Linked DNA regions of Homo sapiens: all the other regions are linked to region 5. Evidence: promoter capture Hi-C in 16 types of primary human blood cells and fetal thymus (Javierre and others, 2016). All regions are on one chromosome and are shown on one strand. Each heading gives the region's core, a stretch centred on a gene start or on the middle of the fragment in contact. The rest is flanking DNA. Distances are from core to core; before and after follow the strand shown.

What was found. The method cuts DNA at HindIII sites, captures the fragments that hold promoters and counts their contacts. A CHiCAGO score of 5 or more calls a contact.
Region 1: a contact is called between a fragment that was not itself captured here and the fragment with the promoter of RPL41 in region 5, in 4 of 17 cell types (fetal thymus, naive CD8 T cells, naive CD4 T cells and 1 more). The highest score is 7.4, in fetal thymus.
Region 2: a contact is called between a fragment that was not itself captured here and the fragment with the promoter of RPL41 in region 5, in 1 of 17 cell types (naive CD4 T cells). The highest score is 5.4, in naive CD4 T cells.
Region 3: a contact is called between a fragment that was not itself captured here and the fragment with the promoter of RPL41 in region 5, in 5 of 17 cell types (naive CD4 T cells, total CD4 T cells, naive B cells and 2 more). The highest score is 9.0, in naive CD4 T cells.
Region 4: a contact is called between a fragment that was not itself captured here and the fragment with the promoter of RPL41 in region 5, in 1 of 17 cell types (fetal thymus). The highest score is 5.7, in fetal thymus.

What each region holds. Positions count from the first base shown.
Region 1 is chr12:55,747,060-55,749,759 of GRCh38, forward strand. It overlaps GDF11 (growth differentiation factor 11), which reads left to right. Exons shown (of 3, transcript NM_005811.5): 2 at 1,527-1,924; 3 at 2,443-2,700. Among named protein-coding and RNA genes, the nearest start is that of GDF11, 5.3 kb to the left of the region's middle. RefSeq lists an enhancer at 1-463. The HindIII fragment of the contact is 9,248 bases long and covers 1-2,700 here.
Region 2 is chr12:56,518,063-56,520,762 of GRCh38, forward strand. It overlaps a transcript of RBMS2 not described here. Among named protein-coding and RNA genes, the nearest start is that of RBMS2, 2.4 kb to the right of the region's middle. The HindIII fragment of the contact is 4,136 bases long and covers 1-2,700 here.
Region 3 is chr12:56,489,963-56,492,662 of GRCh38, forward strand. No RefSeq gene overlaps it. Among named protein-coding and RNA genes, the nearest start is that of GLS2, 3.2 kb to the left of the region's middle. The HindIII fragment of the contact is 1,138 bases long and covers 712-1,849 here.
Region 4 is chr12:56,570,681-56,573,380 of GRCh38, forward strand. It overlaps RBMS2 (RNA binding motif single stranded interacting protein 2), which reads left to right. Exons shown (of 14, transcript NM_002898.4): 5 at 1,018-1,175. Among named protein-coding and RNA genes, the nearest start is that of RBMS2, 50 kb to the left of the region's middle. The HindIII fragment of the contact is 3,027 bases long and covers 1-2,700 here.
Region 5 is chr12:56,115,217-56,117,916 of GRCh38, forward strand. It overlaps RPL41 (ribosomal protein L41), which reads left to right and starts at 1,417. Exons shown (of 3, transcript NM_001035267.2): 1 at 1,417-1,583; 2 at 1,973-1,995; 3 at 2,266-2,700. The coding sequence starts at 1,572. The coding sequence ends at 2,308. RefSeq lists an enhancer at 1,009-1,058. The HindIII fragment of the contact is 11,197 bases long and covers 1-1,603 here.

The sequences.
Region 1 (2,700 bases), core at 177-2,676, 370 kb before region 5:
TAGTACCTAATGGCAAGAAAATAGACAATTCTTATGCTGAAATTTGTAAAGTATGCTATTTGGGATGTTGCTTGTCACTCCCCATCTCACTAGTAGCTTCCCTATCCCAGCTACTTCTGATCTCTGAATTCTCACCCCCCAAACCCTACTCCATTGCACCATCACTGAAGCTCCAGCCAGTAAAATAACTGGACTACCAGGGCCCTGGGACCTCAGAGAATAATCAAGAAAAAAAAAAGCTATAGAGACTTTGGGTATCATATCCTGAATATATGAAGTTCATTAAGCACTTTCTCCTCATCTCCCTTAGAAGGTCCTCTTTCTCCCAGGGTGGGGGTGGGGAAGAGCTGACAGGACACCCTAAGTCCATCCTGATTTTGCAGAACTCAAGACATGGGGAGGATACTTAAAGGCCTAGACTTCCTAACCCTGCTTATATGGCTCTGGAAGCTCATTCCTGATTCTTCCTATCTAGAGTCAGGATAGACATATTCTGTCCAATGGAGACATGTTGTAGGACACTCCCAACTGACTTAGGAAAGGCAGTGAAGAGGAGCTGGAATGGAGGCAGAGGCAGATATTTATTGAGAATCATCTATTAGACCCAAGAAGGATCAATTTAAGGTCCAGAGCAAGGGGAAATGGGTCAAAATGTAAAGTTGGGATGTTCAAACTTTGTAAAGACCTACTGGCACTAGACTGAGAAGTCAAAGGAAGCTCAGGGGAGAAAAAAGGCATTGTAGTTAATCTGGTGTATTTAATATTATTTCTGGTGCTTTAGGCAAATAGGAGGCAACACCATGGAGGTAATTATTCCTTTCCTCAAGAGCTGGGGGCAGTCATGGTGATGATGATGGAGCAGCAGCTGAAGAAACTTCTTAAGAGAGAATGGGGAGACAGATGTATAGGAAGTGCTTGGATAGTTCCATTTTGCTGGGTGTTATTCCTAATGGGAGTGAGGCAAGAAGCCTAGATCTGAATTCTGGTTTACATAATGGGATAAATTTAGCTCATGCTCCCTATCTGGACCCTGGGTTATCCCCTCTCTGAGGCCATCTGTGTTATTTTGTGGGGGAGGGATGTGCCAGGCTCTACCTGTCCAGCAGATAAATCAGAGCAGATAGGGGAAAGGTGATGGAAGGGCAGCAGGTGTGATAAGAGGTATGGCTTCTATAAAGAGCTTCAAAGATTCAGAAAATGTTGGAGCCTTATATGCTGGGAAAAGTTGGACAGTAAGGATGGTGGTGGATGAATAATTTTGCAGGTTATCTGGTAGACAGGAACCTATATATTAGGGCAAATGGATTAGGAAATGGACACAGATCAGTAAGGCCTTATAGGGCCATCATCCTAAAGAGGAAGTGCTGTTTTAGGTACCGGAGACATGGTATAAGATAGGCATGGGAGAAGGGTAAAGAAGAACTGGAAAATCAGGCTGAGAAGTCCAAAATTGCCAGTGCCACCCAGGACTACTGATCCCCTACACAAACACCCTTTGCTGATGCTGTGCCCTTCTCTCTTATCAGCGGACCCAGCAGTACAGACAGATGGCAGCCCTCTCTGCTGCCATTTTCACTTCAGCCCCAAGGTGATGTTCACAAAGGTACTGAAGGCCCAGCTGTGGGTGTACCTACGGCCTGTACCCCGCCCAGCCACAGTCTACCTGCAGATCTTGCGACTAAAACCCCTAACTGGGGAAGGGACCGCAGGGGGAGGGGGCGGAGGCCGGCGTCACATCCGTATCCGCTCACTGAAGATTGAGCTGCACTCACGCTCAGGCCATTGGCAGAGCATCGACTTCAAGCAAGTGCTACACAGCTGGTTCCGCCAGCCACAGAGCAACTGGGGCATCGAGATCAACGCCTTTGATCCCAGTGGCACAGACCTGGCTGTCACCTCCCTGGGGCCGGGAGCCGAGGGGCTGGTGAGCAGGGGGCCTGAGGTGGTGGATATGTGTAACCTGGCCCTGAGGAGATAGGGTTACATTGGAAAAGGTAGACAAGGAATGTGAAGGAGGTTGGGGACCAGCATTACTTCTCTGGGGTCAGCAGCTGATTCTAGAGGAGGAGGTGAGGAGTGGGGTGGCAACTATTACTTCTCAAGGATCCAAATCAGACAACAGCTGAAAACTGGATTTGAAGGTAAAGGTGTCAGTTAATGGAAGAGCTGTGAGAACAAAAAAACTGGCTGTTGAGGCGTTGGGCCAAGGGGCTGACAGGGATCAGGTTGCCAGAAGAGTAAGAATTAGAGATGGTGAGTTGAAGGAGAGCTAGCTAGCTGGCAAGAAAAGTGGGCAAAAGATAAATTCTGGGGGTGGGAGCAATGGAAAAGCTGAGAAGTCAGCAGTCTCTATTCTGATGCCCCTGGCAGGTGGGAAAGGAACAGGGAAGAGGAACTGTTCAGGACCATATCACATTTCTTTCCCCTCTCCCTGACCCTCAGCATCCATTCATGGAGCTTCGAGTCCTAGAGAACACAAAACGTTCCCGGCGGAACCTGGGTCTGGACTGCGACGAGCACTCAAGCGAGTCCCGCTGCTGCCGATATCCCCTCACAGTGGACTTTGAGGCTTTCGGCTGGGACTGGATCATCGCACCTAAGCGCTACAAGGCCAACTACTGCTCCGGCCAGTGCGAGTACATGTTCATGCAAAAATATCCGCATACCCATTTGGTGCAGCAGGCCAATCCAAGAGGCTCT
Region 2 (2,700 bases), core at 187-2,686, 400 kb after region 5:
TGTCTCATTGCTTTCAACCACATATACCACACCAGCCTGTCTCCATTGGAATGTCTGGCTAGGGTCCAGCACATCTACAGGTAATACATTCTTCTGAATTCTCCACTCTGATATGGAGGGGCCAATAGAGGCATGCAAACATTTTTCTTTATTTTTCTTTTTCTTTTATTTTGAGACAGGATCTCACTTTGGTTGCCTGGGCTGGAGTACAGTGGCGCCATCTCAGCTCACTGCAGCCTCGACCTCCCAGGCTCAGATGGCTCTCCCAACTCAGCCTCCTGAGGAGTTGGGACTACAGATATGCACTACCATGCCTGGCTAGTTTTTTGTATTTTTAGCAGAAATGGGGTTTTGCCATGTTGCCCACATTGGTCTTGAACTCCTGGACTGAAGCAATCTGCCCACCTCAGCCTCCCAAAGTGCTGGGACATTTTTCAGCTACATTTTGGGGTTGACCTAGCCCCTACTCCTTCACCTTGGACACTTGTTTAAAAGAGTTGTTTTTCTGGAGAAATCACAAACAAGCCTATATTGAATCAGGTACAAATGTCTCTTCCCCAAAGAAGTTACAGATAACTCTCATTTTGCTTTTTTCCCTTCAAAACAATTCCTGAGTGCTGGGTTCATGAGAACCAAGAATTAGAGAGGCATTGACTAAATCTGGAAAAATGTGGGCAATGTAATGGGCAAAGCAGAAGGGCGTCAAAGTAAATACACTGGAGGAAGTAGGATTCTTCCTCCTCCCGTATACTTCCTGAATCTAACCACAGAACACCATTACCTTCCCCATCATTTCCACAGAATTCCATAACTCCTTTACAAATATACTCACCTGTAATGCCAGCAGTTTTGGAGACTGAGGTGGGCAAATTGCTTGAGCTGAGGAATTCAAGACCAGCCTGGGCAACATGATGAAACCCCGTCTCTACCAAAAAAAAAAAAATTACAAAAGTTAGCCAGGTGTGGTGGTGCATGCCTGTAGTCCCAGCTACAGGGTGGGGAGGGGTGGGATGGGTGTGAGGATCACCTGAACCTGGGGAAGTCAAAGCTGCCTGTTGTGAGCCGTGATTGTGCTACTGCACTCCAGCCTAGGTGACAGAGTGAGACCCTGTCATAAAAAAAAATATATGTTTATAATACATATACTCACCAGAATGAAGGATTTAGTTTCCAGTTTTGTTGGTGCTCTTTAACATAATACACCTTTGGCATCAGTTTGCATATCCGGGTCATTTTACTTCTGTGGTCCTAATTTACCAGATTATAAAAATTTAGATTTTTCGGTCGGGTGCCGTGGTTCACACCTGTAATCCCAGCACTTTGGGAGGCCAAGGCGGGTGGATTGCCTGAGGTCAGGAGTTCGAGACCAGACTGGCCAACATGGTGAAACCCCGTCTCCACTAAAAATACAAAAATTAGCTGGGCGTCGTGGCACATGCCTGTAGTACCAGCTACTCAGGAGGCTAAGGCGGGAGAATCGTTTGAACCCGGGAGGCAGAGGTTTCAGTGAGCCAAGATTGCACCACTGCACTCCAGCCTGGCGACAGAGTGAGACTCTGTCTCAGGGGGAAAAAAAAAAAGTAGAAAGAAAAATTAGACTTAAAAAAAAAGTTAAATTGGGTTGATTGCCTTTATGAATCAGGCCTTCAAGAGAAAGGTTTCTGTACCACATTGTTAGGGTAAAGGAGAAGATATCATCCAAGGGCCTAAACAGCAAGGATAAATTGGTTAATGAGAGTCTCTGAGAGCAGAAAAAGGACTTAAAAAAATATATATATATATATATATGGGCCGGGCGCGGTGGCTCACTCCTGTAATCCCAGCACTTTGGGAGGCCAAGGCGGGCAGATCACCTGAGGTCGGGAGTTTGAGACCAGTCTGGCCAACAAGACTACTAAAAATACAAAAAAATTAGCCGGGCATGGTGGCGCATGCCTATAGTCTCAGCTACTCGGGAGGCTGAGGCAGGAGAATCGCTTGAACCCGGGACGCAGAGGTTGCGGTGAGCCAAGATAGCACCACTGCACTCTAGCCTGGGCAACAGAGCAAGACTCTGTCTCAGAAAAAAAAAAAGATATCACTGAGTGATGCCTTCATTTATTTATTTACTGCATTTGGCTGCTGTGTTTCCAGTCTCAGTTGCAATTCCCACACTGAGGCTCTCCCACCCTTCCTGTGTCCCCTGAGCTGAGCAGGCACTTCCTGTCCTATTGGAAATGAAAGTTAGAGATTGGGGGTAGGGTATGTATATTTACTCTGCAGAATACTAATACTGTCTGTTCCATTATCATAGCAAAAAAGTGACACGGAAACTAGAATAGAGACCAGAACTTCATTTGAGGGAGGGTTTGGGCTTAATATTTGTTGTCACAAAACAGACAGGGTTAATTTATATCTCAAGAAACTACTTAGGATGGCAGCAAGGTGGCCTTATGAAGGGATTTGAAGGCTTTCATTTAACATCCCTATTGCACTTGGATTGGTAGGGGTTACTGGATATCATTCTTAAGTTTTTGGTTTCCTTTCTTGTTAAGGTTACGCCTACAAAGACATTCTTTGGAAACTAGTAGAGGTAAGTGTTGCAACTCTATTAGGTTCTTGACTCTGAAATTTGTATTCCTTCCTAAGAATTTTGTGTTTTTATTCTGTTGAAGCATATGCTTCTTAAGTATTTTTTTTTTTTAAACAGCTCAAAGACAA
Region 3 (2,700 bases), core at 31-2,530, 370 kb after region 5:
TGAAACCAGTCAGGTGTGTTCTGTGGAAAGGCAGTTCTCCTTTGCCTTGGTTAGGGTTGGAGGGCTTATTTGGCTTAAAACCAGATGGAGTGACATTTGTTTTTGCTTGTTTTCGCCTTCTGTAGTCATTCTGTGTCTGCTGTATCTGTTCTCCTGTCCGTGGAAAGCCGTCTAATTCTGGGAGGGCTTGCTGCTTTATGCTTGGCTTTGCCCAAGAGGCAGAGTTCTGGGTCTCAATACTTAACGTAAACTCAATCCTGCATTAGTTTTTTTCATACGTAACAGACGAATCTTATCCTTGTTTCATAGAAATATGATTTATCTGAAACGTTTTGATCTATTCAAGAGAAAAATACCATCTGTTAGGGAATTTCTAAACATTACCCAGAAGTAATTTGCTTCCTTTTTTTCCTATTTCTGCCTCTTTGAATTAGCTTTATACTCTAATGAGTTCCTTACTCTCTTTCTCCCAGCACTCTTCCACTAATAGGAACTGGTTGGGTAGTGAAGAAGATCTATGCATGGAAGCAGAGGTTCTTTGCTTAGAGAACTAGCTCCAGCTGCACTTGGACCTTTGGACTAACTGTCTCCAATACAATATTGCTGTCTTTGCATGAGGATGGAGCATGAACTGGTGACTTGGGAGGCCAATGGTACTGTGTAAAGTATAAGATGCTGGAGAAGAACAAGTTTGTTGTCCCAGGTGGTTAAAGCTTGGCAGGGTCAGGTCCTCTTTTTGTTTCTAATTTGAAAAATACTCATCATCTAGTTTAATTTGTGCAAAACTATTAGCCAACTATGACAAGGGCAGCTAGAAATGAAGATTTTCATAACTGAAAGAAAGTTCTTTGTGTCTCTAACAGTGGGCTTTTAGGTTAGTCCATGGCTGTGCCAGAGTTTTGTGGTATGTGAGAGAGGATTAGACTTAATGATTTTGAATCCTTAATAAAAGCTAAATCCGGGCCGGGCGCGGTGGCTCATGCCTGTAATCCCAGCTGCTCAGGAGGCTGAGGCAGGAGAATTGCTTGAATCTGGGAGGCGGAGGTTGCGGTGAGCTGAGATCACGCCATTGCACTCCAGCCCGGGCAACAAGAGCAAAACTCCGTCTCAAACAAAAAAAAAAAAAGAAAAGAAAGAAAGAAGGAAAAGCTAATCCTCTGTGATAGGAAATTGATGTTTGGAGTTTGTTTATTTCTTATGATTTAGAGACTCATTTGTTCTACTCTATTTTGTGTGTGTGTGTGTGTGTGTGTGTGTGTGTGTGTGTGATGGAGTCTCGCTCTGTCGTCCATGCTGGAGTGCAATGGTGTGATCTTGGCTCACTGCAACATCCGCCTCCCGGGTTCAAGCAATTCTCCTGCCTCAGCCTTCCGAATAGCTGGGATTACAGGCACCCGCCAATATGCTCGGCTAATTTTCGTATTTTTAGTAGTGACGGAGTTTCACTATGTTGGCCAGGCTGGTCTCGAACTCCTGACCCCTTGATTTGCCCGCCTCAGCCTCTCAAAGTGCTAGGATTGCAGGTGTGAGCCACCGCACCTGGCCTGTTCTACTCTTTAGACTGTAGCTAGGATGTTAATTGGTCCAAGTAAAAGATTAGTTCATTTTTTTATTAATCTTTGTTAATGATACTATTGTTACAAACTCCTTTCTGCCTTAGTTTCTCCATTTGTAAAAGATAAACTTGTATTTTACTGGGTAAAATGTAAGTACTTGGGGCTCTGACATAATGAGCTTCCATTCACTCAATTAATATTTATTTGTTGGCATTCAGTGTGCCAGGTCCAGTGCTGGAAAATCCAGAAATTTAAAAATTTAATAAACCAGTTTCTACTGGGAGAAATGAGAAAGCTTATGTTTAAAATTCCTAATGAAAAATGCTGTGATGTAGAGACATGCAGAAGAAAGTATAAAGGGGACATCTAACTAAGCTGGGGGTGAAGGGCCACTGGGATAGAAGAGGAATGGTGACTGACAGGAGCTGGTTTTTAAAGCACGAGAGGTGTTTCAGACAGAGGGCTCTACAAGAATAAACATAGCCTGAGAGGAACATTTGAGGGACTCTACCTCTAGTTTGGTTGGAATGAAACGTGGGTATAAGAATGTGGACCAGCCGGGCGTGGTGGCTTATGCCTGTAATCCCAGCACTTTGGGAGACTGAGGTGGGCAGATCACAAGGTCAGGAGTTCGAGACCAGCCTGACCAACACGGTGAAACCCCATCTCTACTGAAAATACAAAAATTAGCCAGGCGTGGTGGCATGCACCTGTAATCTCAGCTACTCAGGAGGCTGAGGCAGGAGAATCAGTTGAACCTGGGAGGCAGAGGTTGCAGTGAGCCAAGATCGCGCCACTGCACTCCAGCCTGGGTGACAGCGAGACTCCATCTCAAAAAAAAAAAAAAAAAAAAAAAAAAGAATGGGGACCAATGAAACTGAGGATGTAGGTATGGGATGCATGTTTTAACTTGATGCTAGACTTTCATGGAGTAAATGAAATTTAATAAAAGTTTAAGCGTGTCTGTGATCTACTCCAGTGTGCTTTCCTAATTCTTCTTTGGTTTAGCAATAACAAAATGAACATTTATAGGACTGAAAAAATATAAATATAAGCCTATTAAAAAACATATCATCACACTGGTCCATTTACGATGCCTAACATGCATTTTCTCTATTTTTCCAAATAATATCTTGTATAATCT
Region 4 (2,700 bases), core at 102-2,601, 460 kb after region 5:
CATTCTCCTGCCTCAGCCTCCCAAGTAGCTGGGACTACAGGCACCCGCCATCACCTCCAGCTAATTTTTTGTATTTTTAGTAGAGACAGGGTTTCACCGTGTTAGCCAGGATGGTCTCGATCTCCTGACGTTGTGATCCGCCCACCTCAGCCTTCCAAAGTGCTGGGATTACAGGCATGAGCCACCACGCCTGGCTGTCCCTTTGCCTTTCTGAAGCTGTTATGAGTATTATACATAGAGCTTGTGAGGCAGGCCTGCTAGACACCTTTTCTGTAATGGTTAAAGAAAAGGAAAACAAAAGGAAAAGGCAGAAGAGGATTAAGGTTGCTGGTGACCACTGTTTAGGGCAGAGTGACTGCTTAAATTCTTAAAAATACAACTATTGGATGATATTGCCATTTTGCACATTCTGTCCCCTGGAAGGGCTCTCCTACCTCTTCTTCCAGGAGTAAAACCCTCTGACAAAAGCTCAAAGGTTTAGGAGCCTTCAGGGTCCTAGGAGACTGTAGCTTTCAGGGCTCCGTGGTGACACAGTGAACTCTGCATCTGGCTCTCTCCCTGTTCCCTTCTCCCCTCCTCCTGCTCTTCCTCCATCAGGGAGTGAACAGGCATTCCTACTTAGAGGATTCTGCGTGGCTGGAAGAGAAGTGGGGAGGGGCTGCTCAAAACAAGCCAGCCAAGGAGCAAGGCAGTCTGAGGGAATCCAGCCTCTGGGACCGGCTGCTGGGGGAGAGCGGGAATGCTGCTCTGCCTGTTTCTAAAAGAGACAGCCAAACACCATTTATGACTTGTATGATGGGCTTGTATAGTACTAGAAATATTAAATCTGCACTTCTCCCTCCTGGAACTCAATATACAACCCGTGGTAGTGGGACTGGGTGTTAACAAATAGAATAATCTTTGTTTATGTGGGACCCTTCCTATAGTCTCTTTTCTGAAATGTCATTTGTGGGGAGGGCTGAGGGTGGGAGAGGGATAAGAGATGTGAGCCTCATTTTCTCACTGTTATTTCCACAGCAACAGGAACAGGACCCCACAAATTTATACATCTCAAACCTCCCACTGTCAATGGATGAGCAGGAACTGGAGGGGATGCTGAAGCCCTTTGGCCAGGTTATCTCCACCCGTATCCTTCGAGATACCAGTGGGACCAGCAGAGGTGTTGGCTTTGCAAGGTGAGGATGGCAGGAGTGGGGAAATGATGAGGTTAATAACAAATGTCACTTGGGGGTCACCAGAAAACAAAATCTATGCCTTTCCCACACAAGGTCAAAATACTTTACTATTATTCAAAAATACTTGATGGTAAGTCAAAAGTTCATTTTAGGCCAGGTGCGGTGGCTTACACCTGTAATCCCAGCACTTTAGGAGGCCAAGGCAGGCATATCACCTGAGGTCAGGAGTTTGAGACCAGCCTGGCAAACATGGTGAAACCCCGTCTCTACTAAAAATACAAAAATTAGCCAGACGTGGTGGCGCATGCCTGTAATCCCAGCTACTCAGGAGGCTGAGGCAGGAGAATTGCTTGAACCTGGGAGGCAGAGGTTGCAGTGAGCTGAGATCGCACCACTGCACTGCAGCCTGGGGAACAGAGTGAGACTCTGTCTCAAAAAAAAAAAAAAAAAAAAGGTTCATTTTATTATAGGTTACAATACTCAAAAACCCATTAGCCCCACCTAAATATTTTTTTTATAAAGATGGGGTCTTGCTGTGTTGCCCAGGCTGCTCTTGAACATCTGGGCTCAAGTGATCCTCCTGCCTCAGCCACCTAAGCAGTTGGGATTACAGGCATGAGCCACCACACTCGGCTAAGCTCCCTACTACTTCCTAGGGAAGTACTCTAGGCTTTGTTCCTTTAATCCAGACCCAACCAGAGTAAAAAATTCTGTATATTCTTATAGTTTACTGAGTATTTCTCATCTTGTCTCATTTAATCTTTACAACATCCCTGTGAGATAAATATTCTCTATCTTACAGATGAGGAAAGTGAACTCTTCAGTAGAAATGATTTGCCCAGGGTCTTACAGGAGTGGGTGTTAGAGCAGAGCCCTGATCCTTCTGGCTTTGAGAGCAGTAGGATGAGGTAGAAGTTTTGATCTTCCTTTTCAGATCTGTTGGGAGACCTGTATTCCAGAACAATTCTGCACCTGTGATATCAGAGCTTGTGAGCCTTGGTTCACTCTCTGAAGTGGAGATTGATTCAGATGAGTAATTTTCCCACAGTATTCCCTATACCTGCAGTTTTCCCAGGTGCCCTTCTTTGGGCTTTGGTATCTGCCCTCACTGTCGTAGGGTATCAGCCTCCCTTAGCCCACTTAAGAAATGGCTCTGCTTTTATTTATTTTAAGATTTTATTTGAAAGGAGATTCTTTTGACTTTTTTTTTTTTTTTTAGTTTCAAAATGACTGGACTAAGTGAGCCAAGCACCCCTTTTTGCTTTATATCTTGTCTGGTCCGTGAACACCCCCTTACTCTGAGTGTTTCAGACCTTGGGAACAAGAAATAGTTTCTCTTGGCTGGGCGTGGTGGCTCACGCCTGTAATCCCAGCACTTTGGGAGGCTGAGGCGGGTGGATCACCTGAGGTCAGGAGTTTGAGACCAGCCTGGCCAACCTGGTGAAACCCCGTCTCTACTAAAAATACAAAAATTAGCTGGGTATGGTGGCGGGCTCCTGTAGTCCCAGCTACTCGGGAGGCTGAG
Region 5 (2,700 bases), core at 167-2,666:
GTAACAATCACATACAAAATGTTACAGTATTTTAAAACTGTAAGATGAAGTCTCTATAGGGAAAGGGTTCTTTTTCATCCCCCATTAACTCAAAAGTTTCCTGTAGCCAAATCTTAGGGGATCTGGTTGTTTTCCAGTGCTTCTCACCTGAGCATACAATCAAACTGGGAAGTTCTTTATCTTAACACCAAATGTCATACTTTCCCTAGATTTAGGTAATTTTCTCCCTATGTCCGTTGGTTCGCTCTTCACCCCTAGAGAATCACTGCATAGGTCACTGCAGCCTCGACTTCCTGGGCTCGAGATTCCCCCACCTCAGCCTCCCAAAGCGCTGGGATTACAGGCATGAGCCACCGTGCCCAGCCCGCTGACGTATTTTCTGAACAAATGATGCATTGTAGCCAGGAATCTCTAGTGATATTTTGCTTCGGGCATCGTGGGGGAAGACCATAATCAGCTATTTTATTCTTGAAATTTAGGAAAAATAATTGCTCTATCTTAAACAGTGAGAAAATATTTTTTGAAGTATGGCAGCTTTCCCGAATCCCCACTTTATATCTTCCTATGTTCTGAAATCTTAGGACCTTCGATGGTTCCGGAATCGAATCACCCTGCAGCAATTTATTTTAGAAAATAAGGCAAACCGGCTGGGCGCGGTGGTTCATGCTTGTAATCCCAGCACTTTGAGAGGCCGAGGCGGGCGGATCGCTTGAGCTCAGGAGTTCGAGACCAGCCTGGGCAACACAGCGAAACCTCGTCTCTACTAAAAATACAAAAATTAGCCAAGTGGCGCGCGCCTGTTGTCCCAGCTGCTCGGGAAGCTGAGGCGGGAGAATCGCTTGTATTCAGGAGGCGGAAATTGCGGTGAGCCGAGATCGCGTCACTGCACTCCAGCCTGGGTGACACAGTGAGATCCTGTCTCAAAAAAGAAAAAAAGAAAGAAAGAAAGAAAAGAAAGAAAGAAAGAAAGAAAGAAAGAAAGAAAGAAAGAAAGAAAGAAAGAAAGAAAGAAAAGAAGGCAAACCAGTAAAACAAGAATTTCTGTACAGTCCGCGCCTATCCATAGCAAAATGGAGGACTTCTCCAGGGAACTGCAACTCCCAAGAAGCAATGCGAGGGAAGGTGGCGGTCACTATTTTTTCCCCGTCTGCACCTCTAGGTCCAATATTGGAAATAGGTGCTGACGTTTAAATAACACAGCGTCCTCATACTAAATCTGGGGGGGAACTGGTAACTCGAAAACCAAATACTCGGTCTTCCGAAAGAACTAACTCAACCTACCCTTCTACAAGAGGGTCCGAAAACCACTGTTACGCCCATTGGGTAGCCCCGCCCTTGGGGGGGGCAAAGGGCGTGAAAGCGGAAGTGACGACACCCGGCGCTCCATTAAATAGCCGTAGACGGAACTTCGCCTTTCTCTCGGCCTTAGCGCCATTTTTTTGGGTGAGTGTTTTTTGGTTCCTGCGTTGGGATTCCGTGTACAATCCATAGACATCTGACCTCGGCACTTAGCATCATCACAGCAAACTAACTGTAGCCTTTCTCTCTTTCCCTGTAGAAACCTCTGCGCCATGAGAGCCAAGGTGAGCGGTTCCTGGTAGTAAGCTTGGGAGGTAGGAGTTGGCGAGTAGTAGCGAGGAGACGAAGGCAAGTCCGCCATACCTCCTGAACTACTGGGTTTCAAGGGTGCCCAAGAGCTGGTGGGAGAGAGAAGGTAGTTTGTGAGAGAGCTAGCGGTTAAGTGCTATGGGTAGAGAGGGTGGGCTTAGAAAAGGGTGGAATTCTGATCTTATGTTGGGAGGGTGTCCAAGTTACTGATGTAGTTGTTACGACCAATCTTTCATACTTCTTGGTTAAGAATCTGTCCGGTTCTAAAGAGTGCATTTCATATCCTTGCTAAGCCTACTAATAAGCTTCATCCCTTTTTTTTTTTTTTTTTTTTAATTATCTGCTGCTTGTGATCGGTTGCTAGTGGAGGAAGAAGCGAATGCGCAGGTACGTTGAGACTTTGCCAGCCCAGGAGGAGGGAAGTTCCTTGGACAAAACTTAGGAGAAACATTTGGTTTGGAAATCTTAAAAGATCTTTAGGAGAAAAACGTTTGAGTGTTTTCTCCCTGGAGCCAGGATTTAACAGAACAGAGAACGATAGAACCGTAGTGCTTGTTCATTTTACCACCTCATTCTTTATGTGGACGTTTGATTTAATGTGGGAGGGAAAGGCAACTCTGGTTTGAGGTGTATTCCATTCCTGTGTCTGCTTTTCAGGCTGAAGCGCAAAAGAAGAAAGATGAGGCAGAGGTCCAAGTAAACCGCTAGCTTGTTGCACCGTGGAGGCCACAGGAGCAGAAACATGGAATGCCAGACGCTGGGGATGCTGGTACAAGTTGTGGGACTGCATGCTACTGTCTAGAGCTTGTCTCAATGGATCTAGAACTTCATCGCCCTCTGATCGCCGATCACCTCTGAGACCCACCTTGCTCATAAACAAAATGCCCATGTTGGTCCTCTGCCCTGGACCTGTGACATTCTGGACTATTTCTGTGTTTATTTGTGGCCGAGTGTAACAACCATATAATAAATCACCTCTTCCGCTGTTTTAGCTGAAGAATTAAATCATCTTGTCTATTATGTTTTTTATGGTTCCATCGGGTGGGGGTTTTCTGTCATTAGAGTTTGCCCTGTCACTACCTGTGCTATGGA